3 separate regions of the Homo sapiens genome follow, and all the other regions are linked to region 3. The links are contacts of gene promoters, found by promoter capture Hi-C in blood cells and fetal thymus (Javierre and others, 2016). All regions are on one chromosome and are shown on one strand. Each heading gives the region's core, a stretch centred on a gene start or on the middle of the fragment in contact. The rest is flanking DNA. Distances are from core to core; before and after follow the strand shown.

The links. Contacts are between HindIII fragments. The CHiCAGO score rates a contact against its expected background, and 5 or more counts as called.
Region 1: a contact is called between a fragment that was not itself captured here and the fragment with the promoter of MACC1 in region 3, in 1 of 17 cell types (total B cells). The highest score is 6.2, in total B cells.
Region 2: a contact is called between a fragment that was not itself captured here and the fragment with the promoter of MACC1 in region 3, in 1 of 17 cell types (total B cells). The highest score is 6.1, in total B cells.

Annotation. Positions count from the first base shown.
Region 1 is chr7:18,519,560-18,522,521 of GRCh38, forward strand. The region is part of intron 2 of HDAC9 (histone deacetylase 9); the gene reads left to right. Among named protein-coding and RNA genes, the nearest start is that of HDAC9, 25 kb to the left of the region's middle. RefSeq lists a silencer at 2,608-2,687. The HindIII fragment of the contact is 541 bases long and covers 1,421-1,961 here.
Region 2 is chr7:21,350,570-21,353,649 of GRCh38, forward strand. No RefSeq gene overlaps it. Among named protein-coding and RNA genes, the nearest start is that of SP4, 76 kb to the right of the region's middle. RefSeq lists an enhancer at 2,513-2,722. The HindIII fragment of the contact is 1,651 bases long and covers 841-2,491 here.
Region 3 is chr7:20,216,078-20,219,012 of GRCh38, forward strand. It overlaps MACC1 (MET transcriptional regulator MACC1), which reads right to left and starts at 1,307. Exons shown (of 7, transcript NM_182762.4): 1 at 1,222-1,307. GIRGL (glutamine insufficiency regulator of glutaminase lncRNA) reads left to right here and starts at 1,500. Exons shown (of 4, transcript NR_134569.1): 1 at 1,500-1,545; 2 at 2,179-2,286. RefSeq lists an enhancer at 1,132-2,331. The HindIII fragment of the contact is 5,395 bases long and covers 1,241-2,935 here.

The sequences.
Region 1 (2,962 bases), core at 441-2,940, 1.7 Mb before region 3:
TTGTCAACATTATGGGAGTAAAAATAAATGACTAGATAATGCTTAGTGTTGATTGTGGTTTGGAGGAAAGGGGTGTTGTCATGTATTAGTGGAAGAGCACACTGTTCAAATTTTGGAGCAGCATAAATTGGCAGTACTATAAAAATTAAAAATCTACACACCCAACAATCTAGTAATTCCACTTAATTGGTATACAGAAATACTTGCACAAATTCACAATAATTTATGTACCAGGATATTTATCAGCAGTTTTATTTATAATAATGGAAAACTGAGGGCAATCTAACTATAAGTCAATACATAATCCATACTCTGAAATACAAGTCATTAAAGTTATTAAGTAATGTCTGAAGATATTAACATAGAAGGATGAGCTCAATATATTAATGAATGCAAAAAAATGTAGAATGGTATACAGTACATATAGCATAGTAAGCTCAACTAATGGATTCATGGTACTTGTTTCCATTATTTTATTGTTGTAGTAGGAGCAGAAAAGTAGTAAAAGTATTTTAACCCAAAGAAAAAAAATGCTAGCATGAAAATCACAGTTCAATAAAGTGTTTTTATATCAGTATGTTTATTAATAATTAAAAGTATTAATAAGTTTACTTCAGGAATAAGATTAATTTACGTATCTGTGAGAAACTTCGTGATATACATCAAAATATTAAAGTAATCATGCTATATTTTTCTTTTCATTCTGAAGACCACCTCTTGCAGGTAACTTTTTCTATTTTATTATACTGTCCTATTCTCCTTTCTTTACTTAGTTATATATCACAACTATAGAAGAAATAGGTTACCTGTTACTTGCAGAAATGTCACTCACTATTAATATTACTTTGCAACACAGAAAATTTTTCTGAATAATTAGAGGCAACTAAGCAAGCCTAAATGGAGTTGGTTAATTAAGTTATAAAATTCTAAGGGAGTATGATGAACCATGTAGACATATGAGCTTTCTGTTCTGCTTTTTTATCAAATGTTTCTGGCACCTGGGTTTTCTCAACTGCCCTTCTGTTGAATATGATTTTCGAATTGATGTAATGAAGAGTGGTGCTCTCTGGACAAGTAAGCTGTTCATTTGTAGAATAATAATATGTCAACACATATTTTCCAAAATAACAGTCCTACTACCGTAAATGTCTTGGAAACAGTTACCTGACACCCAGAGAGTAAGTACAACTAGCCTAGAGCCTTGGTCTGACACCAAGCAAGAGGGTTTATGAAAGAAGATAGCCCAGAAAGCTGGAGCCCTGCTCTGCTGTGTCGACATGTCTACAGCTCAGAATAAAATTGAGTTTCCTGCTTTAGCCATAGCTGGGTCTTAAAATAACCTGAAGAAATTATAGTTCTGATTACATAGAAAGTGAAGGACTTAGAACATTCTCCTAATAAAGCCATGAGAATGACACAAAGCTTAGTCATCGGCAGTCCTCCTCTAACAGGCGTTTTAGAGAGAAAAATAGAGGTTTGAAATTGGATAATTTGATTTGAAATCTTGCCTAATTATTTTAAGAATGCAGAAAACCTTTCTTTTTTGGCCAAAAAAATAATGATCTGGAATCCAATTAGGAAAGAACAGGCTTTTAAAATGTTTGATATCTCCAGTAATGGAGAAAAATCATGTCTTTAAAATTACATTCTGCTACAAACCTCATTCTTGGATGTCTTGCTTTTTGCATTTTGAATGGACAAATTTAATGTAATTTCCTTTTGGAAACATGGCATTGGAAAAGTTAGATGAGATGTTTAATTTTATGTTGGATCCTATCTACCAGGGTACAGATTTTTAAGAAGAAAAACACTTCTTGTTTCGTTTTATTTCCCAAGGGAGATATCTCACTTAACCAGATGCCTTGCGATTTGTCACAATATAGATCATTTACACAGAATTTGTGTCCAGTCGTCCATCTATTTGATTTGCACACCATGAATAAAATAAGCAAAATGGATAAAGCTTCTAATACTCCCAATTAAAAAATTGCTATCTATTTTTTCACCATTAATATGCTATCCCAAATGGCATTTATCACCATACTGTCTCACCATATTTATTCGTATGCTGTTGTTTTCTCAAGATACGTTCAATTCAGATTATGTTTGACTTGCAGCCATATCAATAATATGACTAATAATAAACAACAGTCTAGGATTTCCAGTTTTTAGAAAAACGATAATAAATTTGAAGTGAACCTATATTCAGATTTACATTTTACTTAGTATTGTTTTTAAAAAAACATTCAATTAATATTCTGAAATGATTCCATTTATTTTTACTACAAAGTTAGCTGGACCTTTACAGCATTTTAGAGTTTTACACGAGGTTTAGATTTGACTAAGCCTTAGTACGATGTCTGGAAACAGGAGGTTGAATGAACATTTGTTGAAAGGAAAAATCAGTTATTGAAATATTGTGTCTTCTGTTATCATTCTTGAGAAATGGTGGTGAGACAACTTAGTAGAAGTGACTAACAACTACATATATACAGAAGACAGGATGTAAGTCTCCAAGGTAATCAAGACCAACAGGAGGATGTTAGACCAAAATTAACACCGCGAGAAATGTGTTATGCATATATTACAGCCCACGTGTGAAAATCTGTTCATTTATAGAGAGATTGCTTCTCTGTGAATGGCTAAGTTGGCTCCACTAAGTACAAAAAAGCACTTAGGGCCATTCAGAACTAACAGCCACACACTCTGAAAGACTAAACCAAAAGATACCTGATTAGTAAGTGCTCTTTAGATGTGGGGATAGACGTTTTAACAAAGAAAGGACAGGGATGGAGAGGACTAAAGCTCCGTGCTGGGAAACTCTTAAGGAGCCAGGGCCTCCCAACAATATGCTAAGAGTGCACCCCTAGCTGTCTGGCCACATTTTCATTTCTTGTCTCAATCCTGAGGATTAATCATGAATTCCAGTCCAGTTTCTTTCCAAGCATATAACTGGACATGA
Region 2 (3,080 bases), core at 416-2,915, 1.1 Mb after region 3:
TTCTCCTGTTCAGCCCACATCCACTGGGCCACCCCTGTACGTAAGTACCCCCAATAAACCCTATGTCTCATTCACTATCTCTGGGTCTCTTCTTCAGCCTCTCAGACACAGTATCATCCCTATTGTAGTCAGTGTAAGGGTCTGGCATGACAGACAGCAATGATCTTTGTCAGTACTACCCAAAGTACGTGAGACCAAACGTTTAGAAATTGTTTTAGCAGTAATTTTATGTCTATTGGACTTTAAAAGTTTTTTGACTGGGGCTGAGGCTTCTGGGTTTTTCTTTTGTTTTTTGTTTTCTGAAACAGGACCTCATTCATGCCCAGGCTGGAGTGCAGTGGCATGAACACTGCTCACTGTAGCCTCGACCTCCCCAGGGTCAGGTGATCCTCCCACCTCAGCCTCCTCCTAAGTAGCTACAGGCTTGCACCACCATACCCAGCTAATTTTTGTATTTTTTGTACAGATGGAGTTTTGCCATGTTTCCTAGGCTGGTCTTGAACTCCTGAGCTCAAGCTATCTGCTTGCCTCAGCCTCCCAAAGTGCCGGAATTACAGGCATGAGCCACCACGCCTGACAACTGGGGCTTCCTGAAAAAAATAAACAATAATAACAAGTAAGAAAGTAGTGGGAGGGGCTCTACTGTGTCGTCCCTGGGAAGACTGTCTTTTATTTCACTGACTTTGTGGGAATGGTCATGCCGTCTCTCTCCTTACCTGTTTGTAGCCAACACCAAGAGTGTACCAAATACATTACTCAGCAAGTCCTCAAGAAATGCATCCAAGTGAGAAAAGATGACTAGAATCCACATTTTTCTGCATTAGAAACTTTATAATGCGAAGCTTGTATGTGTAGAGGTCTTTGACCATCATTAGTGTCATAAATGGTCGCTAATACTTATATATATATGTATGTATATATATATATATATATTTTTTTTTTTTTTTCATTTTAAAAAATGAGGCCAGGCACAGTGGCTCACGCCTGTAATCCCAGCACTTTGGGAGGTCAAGGCTGGCAGATCACTTGAGGCCGGGAGTTTGACACCAGCCTGGGAAACATGGCAAAACCCCGTCTCTACAAAAAATACAAAAATTAGCTGGGTATGGTGGCTAAAAATTAGCCAGGCGTGATGGTGCGCAACTGTAATCCCAGCTACTTGGGAGCCTGAGGCAGGAGAATTGCTTGAACCCCCGGGCAGAGGTTGTTGTGAGCTGAGATTGCACCACGGCACTCCAGCCTGAGCGAAAAAGTGAGACTCCGTCTCAAAAATAAATAAATAAATTAATTAATTAATTAAATAAATAGATAATGATTAAGCAACAAAGATCTCTTAAAGAGTTGGAGTCAAACCAAGCCTAGAACTTTTCATTTTGTTTTACAAATTTTATTTCGGCACTCAATCCTTAACCAGATGTGACTACCTTTTAACTCTGATAATGCAGCAGTAAAATTGGAATTTGGATCTCCAACTTTATCAAAAATAACACATTTCTAGTTTTGAAAAGGGCTTTTTCTTTAAAAAAATAATAATTTGAAGGACAATGATTCAGCTGTTGTATTCTTCGAATAGACAATAAATAGAATTATAGCGTTGCTTTCTTCCCCTCCACCTCTTTCTCCTCTTCCACCTCTGCTATACAAATTTTCAAAAAATGTAACATCAATGTGAAATAGAAATGTTGCCATCCACTGTGAAGCAATGAAGTACAGTGTTCATTAAACCCACCAATCCAACTAGAACCCTGAAATAGACTGTGGAAGTCATGGATTCATCTGCATAAAGCCTTTTCCTTTCACCTCTTCTGGTAAAAGAAGCCCTCGCCTCTATGGGAAACAGGGAACATATCTTCCTATTTAGAAGGATTGCAGGGATGGGAAAGTCAGCCAACTTCGGCCAATCAGGCTCATCCTCTGGACTTGTGCTGTACCCTTTCTCTAACCAACTGTAGGCTATGGCACTAACAATGTATCCCTGGAGCAGTGTAGGGTACCATGTATTTTACCAGAGGAAAGACATTTTCAGAGAATAAAGGCAACATAGGGAAAAGCAGAGCGGAGACATGTAGAGAGAGAAGATTGGATGGCTGGGGAGGAGAAAGGAGTCAGAGCAAAAGACAGAGAGGAAACAAGACAGAGAAAAAGACAAGACAGAGAAAAAGAGAGGAAACAAGAAAGCAGAACAGAGAGGCTGAGGCTTTCGATAATGACATGTGGCACAAGAACCCCCATCTCTGTTGGAAGTCAGCAGCTCTTCTGTACCCTTCAGTTACATGCCCGAGGATATCCCAATTTTTCTTCAGCTTGTTGAGGTTGTCATTCTGTCATTTAAAAAAAATAAACATGTTGATGAACATGACCCCTTTATGTGTCTAATCAAATGAAAGAAGGAACTAAGCTCTATAGCAACTGTCCTTGCCTTGACATTTGAATATACCTTTGAGCATGCAGCAGATCAGTCCAGTGAAATCGAAACTGGAACTCAGTTATAAGCTTTCCAGACAGGGCTTGAGCTACACAGAATTTCTAAGAAAGTAAATTTGACTTTGATGTTAGTTCCTCTTTAGTGTTCCCCCATATGACCAGATTCTCACTGCTCTTGTGCAAGGGAGAGAAAAATCATCTGATATGTTTCATTAATGTTTAAAGGTTAATGAACTTACAGCTTACTCCTTCTGGTAACATAGCTGCATTTCACAAGGGTCAAGATCAATGTTTAATCTAAAGAAATGAATCTCTAATGCTGAAATCATGAGGACAGTAATGCATGGATGAGGAAGCTATTTTCTGTCAAGGAAATTATCCTGCTATTTACATGAGGATACAAGTGACACTTTAGGTATCAGAAGCTTGTGCATCTATTTAAAATCCAGATAAGTGATCATGCAAAGGATCGACTCATTTTTCTTTTCTTAGAGTAGAATGAGGCATACGAGTTCAATTATTGAACTTATTGAAATTACTTCCAATAAGTTCCTTCAAAATCCAAAGATATTAATGTCCAATCCTCCTTGACTAACTGCCCTCAGGGACTTTTACCAGCAGGCTATTCTTGACTATACGGGTGCCTAAGACATCGA
Region 3 (2,935 bases), core at 57-2,556:
GGGGGCATAAAAGAATCACCACTGAGGTTAAGACAACTTTAAGAATATACCTGAAATTCATCATTATCACCCAGTAATTGCTATGTAAAAACCAGACATTAACATAGATAAGTCAATATCAATCCTAAATTAGACCCACTGAATATAGACTTAAGACATTTTTAGGAAATTAGGAAGACCTTTAATAAATGGAAGGCATTGGAATTTTCACTACATGCTTTTTGATCTTAAAAATAAATTTTTTAAAATCTATCTTTATTAATTGTGGTAAAAAACTTAACATACAATTTACCATCCTAACCATTTGTAAGTGTTTACACTTACAAATTTTAAGTTCAATAGTATTAAATATATTTACATTATTGTACAGTCTCCAAGTGTTTTCATCTTGTAAACTGAAACTCTATATCCATTAAACAACTCTCATTTCTCCTTCCCCCAAGCCCCTGGCAACTACCATTCTAAGTATCATTTATGTGAGTTTGACTACTCCAGATACCTCAGGTAAGTTGAATCATCCAGTATTTGTCTTTTTGTTTCTTTGGTGTGTTTTCCAAGCTTAATTGAAACTTAATTAGGATGAAGCCAAGTTACCCTCCATCATGTATCATCTGTCTATTCAGTACAATGCACTGTGCTAATTTAATGACCCCCTTAACTTAATTACATGATTATCTTTTATTCATAATTTAATGCTATTAACCTAATGAGGTAGGTTATGCACACACACTTTACAGATGAGGAAACTGAGACTTTGCGAGGTGAAACATCTTGTCAATGGTCATAAATCTAATAAGCAGTGGGGCTGCTGATTGCAACTTTATCTATCTTCAAAGCACAGTCTTTTTAACATACCTGTATGCTTTTTGAGATATTTAAAGTTTTTAGGGGATTTCAGCCATCTACATATTTTAAGCAACTCATAGAGTGTTTTGTTTTTGCCTTTGATGGTTAATGTGACCTGGGTTCCTCCTTTTTTTTAAAATAAACTACTTTATTCTAAACCATGTCTCAAGGTATTATTCTATTCTATGTCATGAGGTTTATTCTAACACATGTCCCATAAGCCCACAGAATACCAGTTACCTTCCCTTTATTTAAGCAGGGCTTGATTTGTTAAGCAGCTGGTTTGTTACATTTTTCTGGAAATTATACAACTTCCTAGTGTGTAGCACATATCAATAGTGAAAGGAATATTATTTTTAAAAAATCAGCACTTACATTTGTGGAAGTGAGCCCAAGCTTCTTCAGTTCAGACACATGGTTTTAGTGAATAGAAGTCACTCTACCAAACCCGGGTACTCTTCAAACATGCCTTGCTCCGTATGCAGGCAGGCAACTGCACCCCTGCTTCCTGAGCCACCTGGGACTTGAAGTTCTACCACTGTGGCTCCAAAGCTGCCCAACTAGAAACCCCAAAAGGCAAGAGAACTACGATACCCACAATTCAGGCTCCTCACCCGAAACCAGAAGAGGGCGTATGGCTAGAGTTTCACCCTAAGAAGAAAGGGGAAGCAGGTGGAAAAGCAATTAAAAAAAAATCAGGTGAGTATATCTAAGAACCATCTGTAAATATAATCTTATTTCCATGAAAGGAAATAAAAGTGGTTTAATGTTTGCCAGGGAGTAAGAAGGCACCCTCAGTGTTAGCAATAAGTAAAAAATATTTATGCAAGCAAATCCTCATGCAGCTGGAACTTGCCCCACCAGATTCTCTTTCGGTGATTCAGAGCTGAAGGTGCCTCACTGCCCTGTGGAACAGGTGAATAAAGCCTTCCCAGGTGAGTGACAGTGTCTAACTAGTTCCCCCTTTCCCTCTACATCAGCACTGTGATTGTCACTCAAAGACATAGACATATAGACATAATGGAGACCTTTTGGCATTTCATCTTCTAAAATGCTCTGGATTTTTAAGATAACACTTTAAAATGTGCCTTTTAAAATATAAGCAAGAATAAAGTTTTCTTGATATTTTCTTCCATTTTACTTTCCATTTCTGTGTTTTGTGTTTTCCTTCTGTGTATTTTGTTCAAAATTCAAGAAAGAGAAAATTAGGGGAAAGGGGAAAAAAGGTAAAACTTAGTGAAATGAAATGTGCAATAATTGTTTCACATTTTTTTCCAACATCAGCAACAGAGAATGTTTAAAACAAATGTGTTTCTCTATTTGTTCATACAGCATCTCTCTCTAGCCTATTATCTCCTGTTAGACACAGCCCAGAAAATGAATAGAGACAAGTCCTGGCTGGGTCTGGGTTCAGAAACATAATAGAAGGATTCATCTAATGTAAGTAGATGGCAGAATGGTGACAAAGAAAAAGTTTCCTTTCCCTTTTCTGCACTTTCTCTCCTACTGTTCTAACCACCCCTTCCTCCCTGATGCATCCCTGGCTTCATGCTGCCAGATCACCTAATCCACCCAGATTCCCTTTGAAGTTTCCCCTTGACTCATCCCACAATCCAAACTGAGCTGTTCTGTTTCTTTTTGTCACAGGTTCCTCAACTCTCTACTAGAACCTAGCTTTCCTTTATGTCATTATATTATTTCCAAAACAAATGGTTCTTAATTTCCCCAAACCCTACAGAGGGCATTCTGCATGGCATTTCTCCTCCCTGAAACCATTTTTGCTCATCTTGAAATGTTCAGAGATTTCATTTTTTCCAAAGCTCAATGAAAAACACTCTTCAAGATGTCCTTCTCAGTTTGTCTTAATCTGAGTTATTCTCTTCCTCCTAATCAATTTCATAATATTGCATCTGCTCCTCTCATAACACATTGTATATCTCATTTCATTGGTTTACATGGGTGTGTGTGTACCTATGCAGTCTTACATTCCTATTTGAAGGCAAGGCCTCATTGTATCCCTACTTCATTAACTCATTAATGTACAAGTAGATGTTTGTGATAAACAATCAACACATAAAATAACTGAGAT